Linked DNA regions of Homo sapiens: regions 1, 2 and 3 are each linked to region 4. Evidence: promoter capture Hi-C in 16 types of primary human blood cells and fetal thymus (Javierre and others, 2016). All regions are on one chromosome and are shown on one strand. Each heading gives the region's core, a stretch centred on a gene start or on the middle of the fragment in contact. The rest is flanking DNA. Distances are from core to core; before and after follow the strand shown.

Region 1 (2,700 bases), core at 62-2,561, 140 kb after region 4:
TCATTTTTCCTTTTCTCCACCATGTCAGGAAGTCATAGCCCTGCAAATACAGGGAATTTTTCTATGTGAGAGGGTTTTCTTTTTCCTACCTTAACACTCTGCTTACCATAGGGATGAAACAGAGGGGTGATCCCACCAGCGGCTGGCTGCAAATTTGGCAAGGGCCATCTGGGACTTAATCTAAAGGAATCCATGCACTCCCCTGAGACAACTTTTTGTCCCAAATTCAATTCCAAGCTTCAGGTTGAAGTCCTAGGTCTGAGGGATTCAAAAACTAGGTCCGAGGGATTCAAAAGCAGGTAACAATGGAAGATACGTGCACAACTTAGGTGGGCAAAACTAATCCTGCCAATTAAGCCCCTGTTTCATGGATAGAGGTCATGCTAGTATCCATGGCATAAATGAGGTCCAGGAAACTCAAAGGTTATCAACAGCCAGGGGGATAGACAGTGTAGGTAAATGCAAATAACTCCTGCCTTCTAGGCCCCCTGCTTCATGGGTGCAGGTCACACCAGGTCTGTGTCACCAGGACTTGGGGATGAAAAGATGGAAGAGAAAAGGGGACATTCTTCTCTCTCTCCCTCACACACCCTGAGCTTTTGCTGAAAGAGAGAAAGGAATTAAGGAATGCTTATTTTTCTCTCTTTCAGATGGGTAACTAGCTATCATCAGTCTATACTCCTCTGAAGTGTATCCTGAATCATTGGGACTGCTTTGACCCTCAGACTCTGGAGAAAAAATACCTCATGGTCCTTTGCACAAAAGTTTGGCAAAATTTTGATTTGCAGGATGGACTGGCTTGGTCTCAGGAAGGAGCCGTTCATTTCGACACCATCCTGCAGCTGGATTTTTTCTGTAAACATAAGGGCAAATGGTCTGAGGCTTTCTATGTGCAGGCTTTCTTCACCTTACAGTATAATTCGGACCTTTGCCAACATTGCAGGATTGATCCAGCCCTCCTGTTTGTCATCTCAGGAGAGGCTGCCAAGGGACAATCCCAGGGAACTAAAGGAACAAACCCCAGAGGCATGTCTAGCAGGGGAACAAGCTTTCTCTGGCCCTGCTCCTCTGGGTCCACCCCATCGTCCCCCTCCAGTTTCTCTCTCTTGTTTGCCCCCTCCTAGAAATCCTCACTCTAGACAGGCCCCAGTCTCACTCCTGCCCCTACAACAGATGCCTAGTGAATACGGCCTCAGTAAGGTCCAAGTCCCCTTGTCTCTACAGGACTTAAGGCAAATGAAGGGGAATCTTGGCAAATTTTCAGATGACCCTGACAGATACATAAAGGCTTTCCAGAATTTCACCCAAGTATTTGAACTGTCCTGGAAAGACGTTATTACTTTTGAACCAAAGCCTGACAGATACTGAGAAGCAGGGTGCTCTCTGCTTCTCAGAGAGAAGAGAAGCAGCAGAGAGATTTGGGGATAGCATCAGGGAAGGCGGCAAACTTTATTCAACTGAAGAGAAGCAGTACCAGTGGATGACCCTGGATGGGATCCCAATGATGAGATGGGAGACTGGAAGAGGAGGCACTTTCAGGCCTGCATAATGGAGGGCTGATGTAGGGCTAGGACCAAGCTTTTCAATTATACCAAGTTCTGCATGATAGACCAGGAATTTGATAAGAATCCCACTGCCTTCCTAAAAATGCTAAGCACACCTTTCTATCTCCTGATTCGGCCGAAGGACAACTTATCTTGAAGGATAAATTTATTACCCAGGCATTCCCCGATATCAGGAGGAAGTTTCAGAAACAGACCCTGGGACCAGATAGAATTTAGAGAACCTCCTGAAAGTGACCACCTATGTTTTTTTAATAGAGACAGGGAGGCCCAGCAGAGAGAGAGGTAATACAGGAAAGAGACAGAGGCTTTAATGGCCACCACGAAAGCCCTGAAACCCCATAATTCCCAGGGTGCACCTGTTAACTGCTACAGATATAGAAAGCCAGGACATTTCAAGGATTACCCAGGCAGCATGAGGAAGCCACCTCAAGCCTGTCCAGTCTGCATCGGGGGAAACTGGAAGGTGGACTGTCCCCAGGGATGTTGGTCACTGGGTCCAGAACCAATCACCCAAATGGTCCAGCAGCAAGACTGGTGGGACCCTGGGCTCCTCTCCCCACCTCCAGTGGTCCAGACCTCCATTACCATCCAGGGACCCTGGGTGAATTCTAGAAATGGAAAGGAGGAAATTGGACCTCCTTTTGGAACACCAGGGCTGGTCTCTCGCTTCTCCTCTCTAATCTGGGCCCCCTCTTCTCTCTTAACATGACCATGACGGGTGTCTCAGGAAAGCCTTTAACCCGATATTTTTCCCAACCACTTAATTGTAGTTGGAGAGACCTTTTGTTCACCCATGCTTTTCTAATTATGCCTGAAAGCCCAGCTCCTTTGTTGAGAAGAGATATTCTGGCCCATATGGGGACCACCATCCTCATGGCCCCTGGGAAAACTCTTTGTCTCCCCATAGTACAAACCAATATTAACCCAGAAGTTTGGGCAACTTGAGGGAAGATTGGCTAAGCTACAACCACCATACTGGTCCAGGTCCACCTTAAGAATCCCACCTCCTTTCCTAACGAGAAACAATATCCCCTGAAACCAGAGGTTAGGAAAGGACTAGAAGCCACTATCAATAACTTGAAGATGCAGGGCCTCCTCAAACCCTGCAACAGCGGTCTAATACCCCAATATTGGG
Region 2 (2,700 bases), core at 77-2,576, 160 kb after region 4:
GGTGTGAGACACCATGCCAGGTCCCCTCTTAAATGTTTTTAACACGGCAAGAATGTCTTTGTGCAGTAGGACAATTCTTTTCTCCCTTTCAACATTGTAAATAGAAATATTTTAAACATACAGTACAGTAAAAAGAATAGAGCGATGAACACCCACATAACTTTGATCAGGATTAAAAATGTGTTAATATTTTGGCAAACTTATTCTGTCTCTGCACACTTTCTATGATGAACCATTTAAAAGTAATTTGAAGACTTTGTCATACTTCATTATTAAATATTTCAGCATGCATCTTCTTAGGATGAGTATATTTTCCTAAATAAACACATTGCTATTGGCATACCTAGGAAAGTTAGTAATAATAATAATTCTCTAATATAACTTAATAATCTGCCCATATTTAAATTTCCCTTTTGTCTTTAAAGATACTTTTGTAGGTACTTGGTTTACACATATTAATAGTTTTGAACCAGGATAAAAACAAGGTTTATACTTTGTATTTGCATATCTATTAGAATTCAATCCAGAAAGCTAGTTTAAAAAATTATTATTCATTTTCAAGTCACATTGATGGTCTCAAAAATGCAGACCAGTTTTTTTTATGTCCCTCAGGATCTGCTTCCCTATTTCCACATGGTGTAGTTTGCCTTGTTTTTCTTTCTCCTCTGTTGGCCATAGACTGGCAACTGGATCTAGAACCTTGCTCAGGTTATGTGATTATAATCACTGATAGTCATGATTCTTTGTGATGTTCCCATTGTCCGGAATTTGTCTGCAGCGAGTGTCTGTAAGCTAGCTTCTGTCCCTTTTTCATGTGATCCTGTTAATCTCTGAGTGCGCTTTTGCTTCTTGTCACAGGAATATGTCACAGCCACACCTTGTGTTTTCTCCCTATTCCTGGAACCTGAGATTTCTCCAAGGAGCACTGCTTTGTTTTCTTTTTCTTAAAGTGGGTAAAAATTATTTGCAAACAAAAATATAGATGCTGGATTTACTCATTAATATTAGAGTGCTATTTCTTCAAGAATCTTTTAGTGGTCTAAACCAATATCTATATCTATACCCACATAGATATAGATGTAATTTTATTTTTCAACTCAAATTTATAAGGTTTCTTCTTCTTTTATTTTTCTATTTGTATTTTAAACATATAAAAACCAAAATACATGAGGAAAAATTTAGATGTTTTTTCCTGCTGCAGCAAGGAAGAATGCAACCATAGAGAACCATAGGGCATCCAAAAGTGGGGAGGTAGAAAGGATACAGGGGTTTGGGGTTAAAATAGGATGATCTTGGCAGGAACTGGTCAGAATTTATAAACTAAGTGAGTTACTGCCACAGTCAGGAGTTTCACCTTTAGAAATCATGGGTTCCTGATGAGTTGTTAGATCAGTAGACCTGTCTGCTCTTCAAGAAGCTATGTAGCTGAATGAGCTGGTGTTAAAAAAAGTTTGAGCTTGGCCAATTTGTTTTGCATGCTATGATTTGGTGCAGTTTATTTGTTTTGTGAACCGCAGAACAGTTTTGCAAGTTAAGGTTTTTATTTCAATTATCAATTTCCCCTACCTGCAAACAAGAATATTTATTTATCTATTTATTTTATAAACAGTTTCACTGAGGTATAACTGACATATTTTAAATGCATTAATTTATTATATATAATTTAATGAGTTGCATACACTTAAAAAATTGTCACCACAATCAAGGTAATAGATATACCCATCCCCTCCAAGTTTCCTCATGCCTGTTTGTTGTTGCTGTTGCTATTTGCTTATGTTTTGTAACAGCATGTAACATGGATCTAGCCTCTTAGCACATTTTCAAGTGTATAATACAGTATTTTTAACTATAGCTATGCCCTATGGTTCTTATGTTGTACAGTGGATCTCTAGAATTTACTTATCTTTATGACTGAAACCTTATACCCATTGAATATACTCCCCATTTCCCTCCCCCCGAACTCTTGGCAATCAGCATTCTATTCTCTGCTTTTATGAGTCTATTTTAGATTCCACATATAAGTGAGGTCATGCAATTTTTGTCCTCTGTAACTGGCTTTATTTTTTTAGCATAATGTCCTTCAGGTTTATCCATGTTGTTTCAAATGACAGAACACACTTGTTTTTTAAAGTTGAATAATTCTCTCTCTCTCACAGACACACACACACATACACCAAATTTTCTTTATCTATTTATCTGTTGATGGACATTTGTGTTTTCTCATATCTTGGCCATTGTGAATAATGCTACAGTGAACATGGGAGTGCAGATATTTCTTTAAGATTCTGATTTTTATTCTTTTGAATATATTCCTAGTAGTGGTATTGCTGGATCATGTAGTAGGTAATTTTTTGGGAAACCTCCATACTGTTTTGCAGCGTTGCCTCACCATTTCACATTCTCAACAGTGTAAAAGGATTCCGGTTTCTCTATATCCTTATCAATGCTCATCTATTTTTTTGTAATAGCCATCCTAACAGGTAGGAGGTGATATATCACTATTGTTTTGATTTGCATTTCTCTGATTATTAGTAATGTTGAGAACCTTTTCAATATATTTTCAAAATATTGTATTTTATTTCTGAGCTCTCTATTCTGTTTCATTCATCTATGTGTCTATTTTTATGCCAGTTCCATACTGTCTTAATTACTGTAGATTTGTTATACATTTTGAAATCAGTAAGTGTGATGCCTCCAGCT
Region 3 (2,700 bases), core at 129-2,628, 140 kb before region 4:
TTGAAATCATCAGTGAGGATTATACATGGGCAATGTCCAGAAATCACATTATTGCTCATAGACCGTGTAGTCTTGATCTAACGGATAACTGTACATTGTCTTCACTAAGAAGCTAGGGTGGTTGTCCTTGATATTGGGACATTGTAGACTTGGCCAGACCAATGCCCAAATATTTCCCAAGACTTTTACCTAAGACTCTGCTCAGTATCCATTTGTCTACTGCTGGTCATCTGGAAGAATAAACTTCTCCTGAGTGGTACCAGCTTATGAGATTTCCTGAGTTGATACAGAGGTAAATGCATCTTTGTTGCACAATTTACAGTCTTTTTTTTTTTTTAAGAAAAAACATGATTTTGATCATTGTACCACATGCCTTTATAAACTTTTGGTGTTATGATGCAAGATCTAATTATTATCAAATGTAGTGACGCTTGTTCCAAATTCTAAAATTGTTTCAATTATGCCTTGGTTAGGGGTGACAGGAAGGCTCTGGTCTTTAGCTTATGGTACATGCCTTTCGTCGTCTCATTTTCGTCTGGAGATCCTGTATCTCATTTTTCATTATTCTGCTTTCTTTTTGAAATCCCTCTTTTAGTAGTTGCTCCTGTTCCTAAAAAGGGACAAACGAAGGCTGAGTAAAGTGTAGCATCAGGCAAATTGAAACATTCTATCTGGTTTCCACATTAAATGATTTGTTATTTAATTTTCTCTGAGTCACGCAAGACGTAAATGTCATACTTTGGCCTATCATTGACCAAAGCACAGCCATGTTCCTTACCCTATTATGTATATGACATAACACCGAAATAAGCAAAGTATCCTCAAAATCTCATAAGGTGTATGAATCATGGATTAGGAAATTTGGTCTAAGCTGCCACACCTTGGTGTCAGGGGTAGCAGAAGACAGGTAAGAAATCTGAGTGCCAGACTGACCATACTGAGTTTCTGCACATAGCTCACAACTCAAAACAAACTGGGAGCAGGACATTAAAAATAATCAGAATTAGCAGAGTATCACACAGGTGTGAGGGTTAGGAGCCTTTCTGCTCATAAAGGTTTCTTAAATCTAATTTCATAGTAGGTGTCACAGAAACAAATAATCATTGTGGATTCCGCTAAGTGATGAAGACAGCTCTGATATATTTACTAGCTGTGTGAACTTAATTATTTATTCTTTTTGGAACCTTTGTTTCTTCTTCTAAGTAATAAGGATATAGTTCTTGCTACATATGTTATTAAGCAAGAGATACAGATTTTTTTTTTTGGAGTCTCGCTCTGTTGCCCAGGCTGGAGTGCAGTGGTGCGATCTCAGCTCACTGCAAGCTCTGCCTCCTGGGTTCACTCCATTCTCCTGCCTCAGCTTCCTGAGTAGCTGGGACTACAGGTGCCCGCCACCACATCTAGCTAAATTTTTTGTATTTTTAGTAGTGACGGGATTTCACCGTGTTAGCCAGGATGGCCTCAATCTCCTGACCTCGTGATCCGCCCGCCTTGGCCTCCCAGAGTGCTGGGATTACAGGCGTGAGCCACAATGCCCCACCGAGATACAGATATTTTAATGATGCCTAGCAGATAATAGCTTCCTTGAAATGAAGGATATATTGATAAAGGACTGAATGTTACACAACTGCAAATAAAAAACTTTCAGTGACCAGACTTGGCAGTAGCCAGTCAGGCTGGACAGACAGGAATTGAAAAGTACAAGTAAGCAAGCAGGGTCCTTACCCTGGGCTTCATGTTCTCTCTGCCACACTAAGTTTGCGATCAGGGAGAATGGAGAGAAAACAGAAAAACAGAAACCTCAAGGTGATGCAATTAGATACCTGAAGTTTAAGAGCGAGGGTCCTCTCTTGCTCTTTCAGCAACTGGACCCTGTCGTTCTCCATCTTCTCAGTCAGTTGTTTCAAGTGTTCCTGATAACTCCTCTCCTTCTGTTCCATCATCTGCTCATTCTTTCTTTGCATTTCCTGCAACATTTTTGCTGAAGCCTGTGCAGACTCAGCTTTCACACGTTCCACTGAGGAGGAAAAGGCAGAAGAAAAATTTGTGTGGGGTTATCTTGTTGCCTCATTCTTCCTTATACACTTACCTGTCGTTGTTGCTGACTGCATATGCCCTACTCAGAGATGACCTCGGCAAGTAAGACACACCTTTGTGGATCTTGCTCTAGTTAAAGGGTCCCATGTTTATCCAGTCAAGTTATTTCAATTTTTGGAGCTTTTGAGGCCATCTAATCTCTTAACTCACTCCTCACCTTCAATCTCCTTTTCTTTTTCTGTGAGAGTCTGGTCTGTCTGGAGAATTGCATCAGTCATAGACTCCTTGGATTTCAAGTATGTCTGCAGAATCTCTTCAGCCTTAGGACCCAGAGAACACAGAGTGAGAAGTAGGAAATGGCTGTAAGCAGGTGTTCCTGTTTGTCTTCCTGCCATCCTTTCTCCTCTGGGAATTCTTTCTCTTGGCCCTATTGTCCTTGGTGGTCAAATTCCCTGTCGGAGCGACAGACACATGCTCCTGGCAAGCCGATCAGAACATCCTACTTAGCAGTCATTTTTAGTAGGCTAATATAGATACTGGGAAAAGGAGAGTCTCTGTCCTGTTTAGATTAAGGGCTCTAAGTTTGGAACTGTTAATGCTGTGGTCCCATATGGGCTGAGCCTGCTGGGGAATGAAGCCATCATTGAGAAAGCAAATATCAGA
Region 4 (2,700 bases), core at 4-2,503:
AAGGAGATGAGGAGTGGTTAGAAAAGGCTCCAGGCATTCCAGAAGAATTTGCTCTCTCATTAATTTAATAAAGAGTATTGCGTACCTACCATGTGCTAATTAACACCGTTCTAGATTCTCAGCAACAAGCAAGGAACATAATTGATACAAACTTCTGCCTCTTGGAGCTCTATTTGTTGTAACCCAGCGAGTTACAGAGAAACGCCACACTCTGAGACGAATTCAGGAGTCCTTTATTAGCCGGCGACCGAGAGACGGCTAGTGCTCAAAATTCTCTCGGCCCGAAGAAGGGGCTAGATTTTCTTCTATACTTTGGTTTAGAAAGGAGAGGTTGGGGGGAGGGGTCTAGTTAAAACAATCCTACAGAAGTAAAGTAGGCAAAAAGTTAAAAGGATAAATGGTTACAGGAAAGTAAACAGTACTAGGTGCAGGGGCTTTAATTCTATCACAAGGTGATAGAAGCGGGGCTTTGGGCTTTATCAACCAGACACAAACGCGGGGGGCTCTGGGTGCTGTTAACCGGGCGAATTCCTGGGAACTGCGGGTATGGCTTGCCACAGTACCTTATCAGTTAATTGCATTCTTGGATGTGCTGGGAGTCAGCTTGCACAAGTTAAGTCCCTGAGGAAGCGGGTGGGTAAGGGGCTGCAAGTGAAGGAGCCGAGATGCAGACTGTCTGGCTCTTTCAGCTAAGGGAGAGTCAACTCAGGTTAAAACAAGGTAGGGTATCACATATTCTAGTGGGGGACAGAAAATTAATAAAACAAACAAGCAAAAAATGTGTATATGTATACTAGATGATGGTATTTCGCAGGAGAAAATGCCACAGCTCTGGGAGGAAGCCCGAGGAGGAGCAGCGCATCCTGGAGACACCGGTGCGCCTCTGGTCGCCGCCTGTGGACCGTCTAGAGACGCTGGGCCACACGGAGCAAAGCACTCAGGGGTTCAAGCAGCATCAGACTTCCCCGCGAGGTTCCTCCACTGCCTTTGTCACCCGCCAGTGTGAAGTCTCCAACCCTCCCCGTGTGCAGTCTGCGCTTGGGAATTTGTTGTTGTTTGTTATAACCCAAATATACTTGAAAGGTAAAGCTTAAGAGCAAACTTACCTGGTGTGGGCACTGCAGCGTGAAGAGTTCTCTCACCCATTGCTCTGTCCTCCTGCGCCTGGATCCTCGAGAAACGGACTGTTCTTAGAAGCTGAAAGTCCAGCCGGATTTACAGACATCCAAGTAAGAGTCTGTGAGAACCGAAATTGAAAGGACATGCACTTTGTGGGGAGTTGACTGTTGGGGATTTTCCTGTTTATCAAGACAGGAAACTAAAGGAGCTTGAAAGTGCTGGTTCCTCCACACCAGACTCCTGAAACTCAGGTTTGTTTGTCCCTCTTCCACCCTTAGCTTAGGTATCTTTCGCCTCCAAAATGAATATAGAGCAGCAGACATGAATGTTGTTTCATCTACCTGTCTCTCAGGGGTAATTTTGTCAGGGAAGAAATTTGAGTTTTTGTTTGCTTTTATTTTTTTTTACATGCTTATATGTTTCTGTTTCTCATCTCTTTTCTTTATTTTTTCATTAACCATAAAATATGTGTGTGTTTGTGTGTGTGTCTATGGATATCTATGTATCCTCTAACGTTGTTGCCCAGAGGTGCGGTGGTGGCAAGTAAATACTTCTCTTTCAAAACACAAACATCTCATTGAAACTGGATCTTTTGGAGGACAGGAGGATGATTGGACCATAAAAAGCATAATTTATAATTAGGAGTCTTACCCAGGCTACCAGAAAAATGGACTCAGTTCCTAAAATGACTAGCCAGTTTGTTAACAGAGTTTGGGAAATCTATCTGAAATAAATGGGTAATGATTCCCCATTTGTGCCTATCCCTTAGATCTTCCTATTTGTTTAGTAATGTCTGATTAAACATTTGCAAATTAATAAGTACAAAATTTTAGGCACTTAATCAGGTAAAATTACTGGTGCCGATTTTGATTCAAAACTTAACATTTATTTCCTATAAGCAATATTGAAAGTGAAAATAAAGCTAAGTCAAGTTTTAAATAGGACCAGTAATAAGAAATCAGGTGCTTTTTTCTCTTACCATTTTTTAATGTCAGGAAGTCCCTCTCTCTTAAAAAAAAAAAAAAAGAAGAAGAAGAAAAAGTACAGGGATGACTGAATCCAGGTAAATGTGTTTGAAACACCTGAATTTCACCAGTGGCACCCCTTTCCAGATAATCCAATGTTACTGACTTCAGATAATCATGGAAATGTTAATCAAGAAGAAATTTAGGCTGGGTGTGGTGGCTCACTCCTGCAATCCAACCATTTTGGGAGGCCAAGGTGGGCAGATCACTTGAGTCCAGGAATTGGAAACCAGCCTGGGCAATATGGGGAAACCCCATCTCTACAAATAATAATAATAATAAATTAGCTGGGCATAATGGCATGTGCCTGTTATAATAGTCCTAGTTACCTGGGAGTCTGAGGTGGGAGGATGACCTGAGCCCAGGAGGTCAAGGCTGCAATGAGCCATGGTGGTCCCACTGCACTCCAACCTGGGCAACAGAGTGAGATACTGTCTCAAAAAAAATTGTTAATTCACAGTTGTATGTATAATGATTGCACATAGCAATATGTCTATGCACATAGAAAATATACATAGCAATATGTCTGTGTTACACAGATAAAAGTCTATAAGTG

What was found. The method cuts DNA at HindIII sites, captures the fragments that hold promoters and counts their contacts. A CHiCAGO score of 5 or more calls a contact.
Region 1: a fragment that was not itself captured here is called in contact with the fragment with the promoter of GBP4 in region 4 in 6 of 17 cell types (activated CD4 T cells, non-activated CD4 T cells, naive CD8 T cells and 3 more); the score reaches 10.8 in activated CD4 T cells.
Region 2: a contact is called between a fragment that was not itself captured here and the fragment with the promoter of GBP4 in region 4, in 12 of 17 cell types (activated CD4 T cells, non-activated CD4 T cells, naive CD4 T cells and 9 more). The highest score is 26.8, in activated CD4 T cells.
Region 3: a contact is called between a fragment that was not itself captured here and the fragment with the promoter of GBP4 in region 4, in 2 of 17 cell types (activated CD4 T cells and naive B cells). The highest score is 7.4, in activated CD4 T cells.

Annotation. Positions count from the first base shown.
Region 1 is chr1:89,338,263-89,340,962 of GRCh38, forward strand. No RefSeq gene overlaps it. Among named protein-coding and RNA genes, the nearest start is that of GBP6, 24 kb to the right of the region's middle. The HindIII fragment of the contact is 530 bases long and covers 1,047-1,576 here.
Region 2 is chr1:89,358,940-89,361,639 of GRCh38, forward strand. No RefSeq gene overlaps it. Among named protein-coding and RNA genes, the nearest start is that of GBP6, 3.8 kb to the right of the region's middle. The HindIII fragment of the contact is 3,000 bases long and covers 1-2,700 here.
Region 3 is chr1:89,052,859-89,055,558 of GRCh38, forward strand. GBP1 (guanylate binding protein 1) reads right to left here. Exons shown (of 11, transcript NM_002053.3): 9 at 2,255-2,357; 10 at 1,824-2,017; 11 at 1-610. The coding sequence ends at 497. All of the region lies in intron 2 of LOC105378841 (a long non-coding RNA gene), which reads left to right. Among named protein-coding and RNA genes, the nearest start is that of GBP1, 11 kb to the right of the region's middle. The HindIII fragment of the contact is 3,413 bases long and covers 1-2,700 here.
Region 4 is chr1:89,197,689-89,200,388 of GRCh38, forward strand. GBP4 (guanylate binding protein 4) reads right to left here and starts at 1,254. Exons shown (of 11, transcript NM_052941.5): 1 at 1,107-1,254. The coding sequence starts at 1,146. It overlaps LOC107985076 (a long non-coding RNA gene), which reads left to right and starts at 659. Exons shown (of 3, transcript XR_002958332.2): 1 at 659-720; 2 at 815-1,370. RefSeq lists a silencer at 1,058-1,352. The HindIII fragment of the contact is 3,654 bases long and covers 1,088-2,700 here.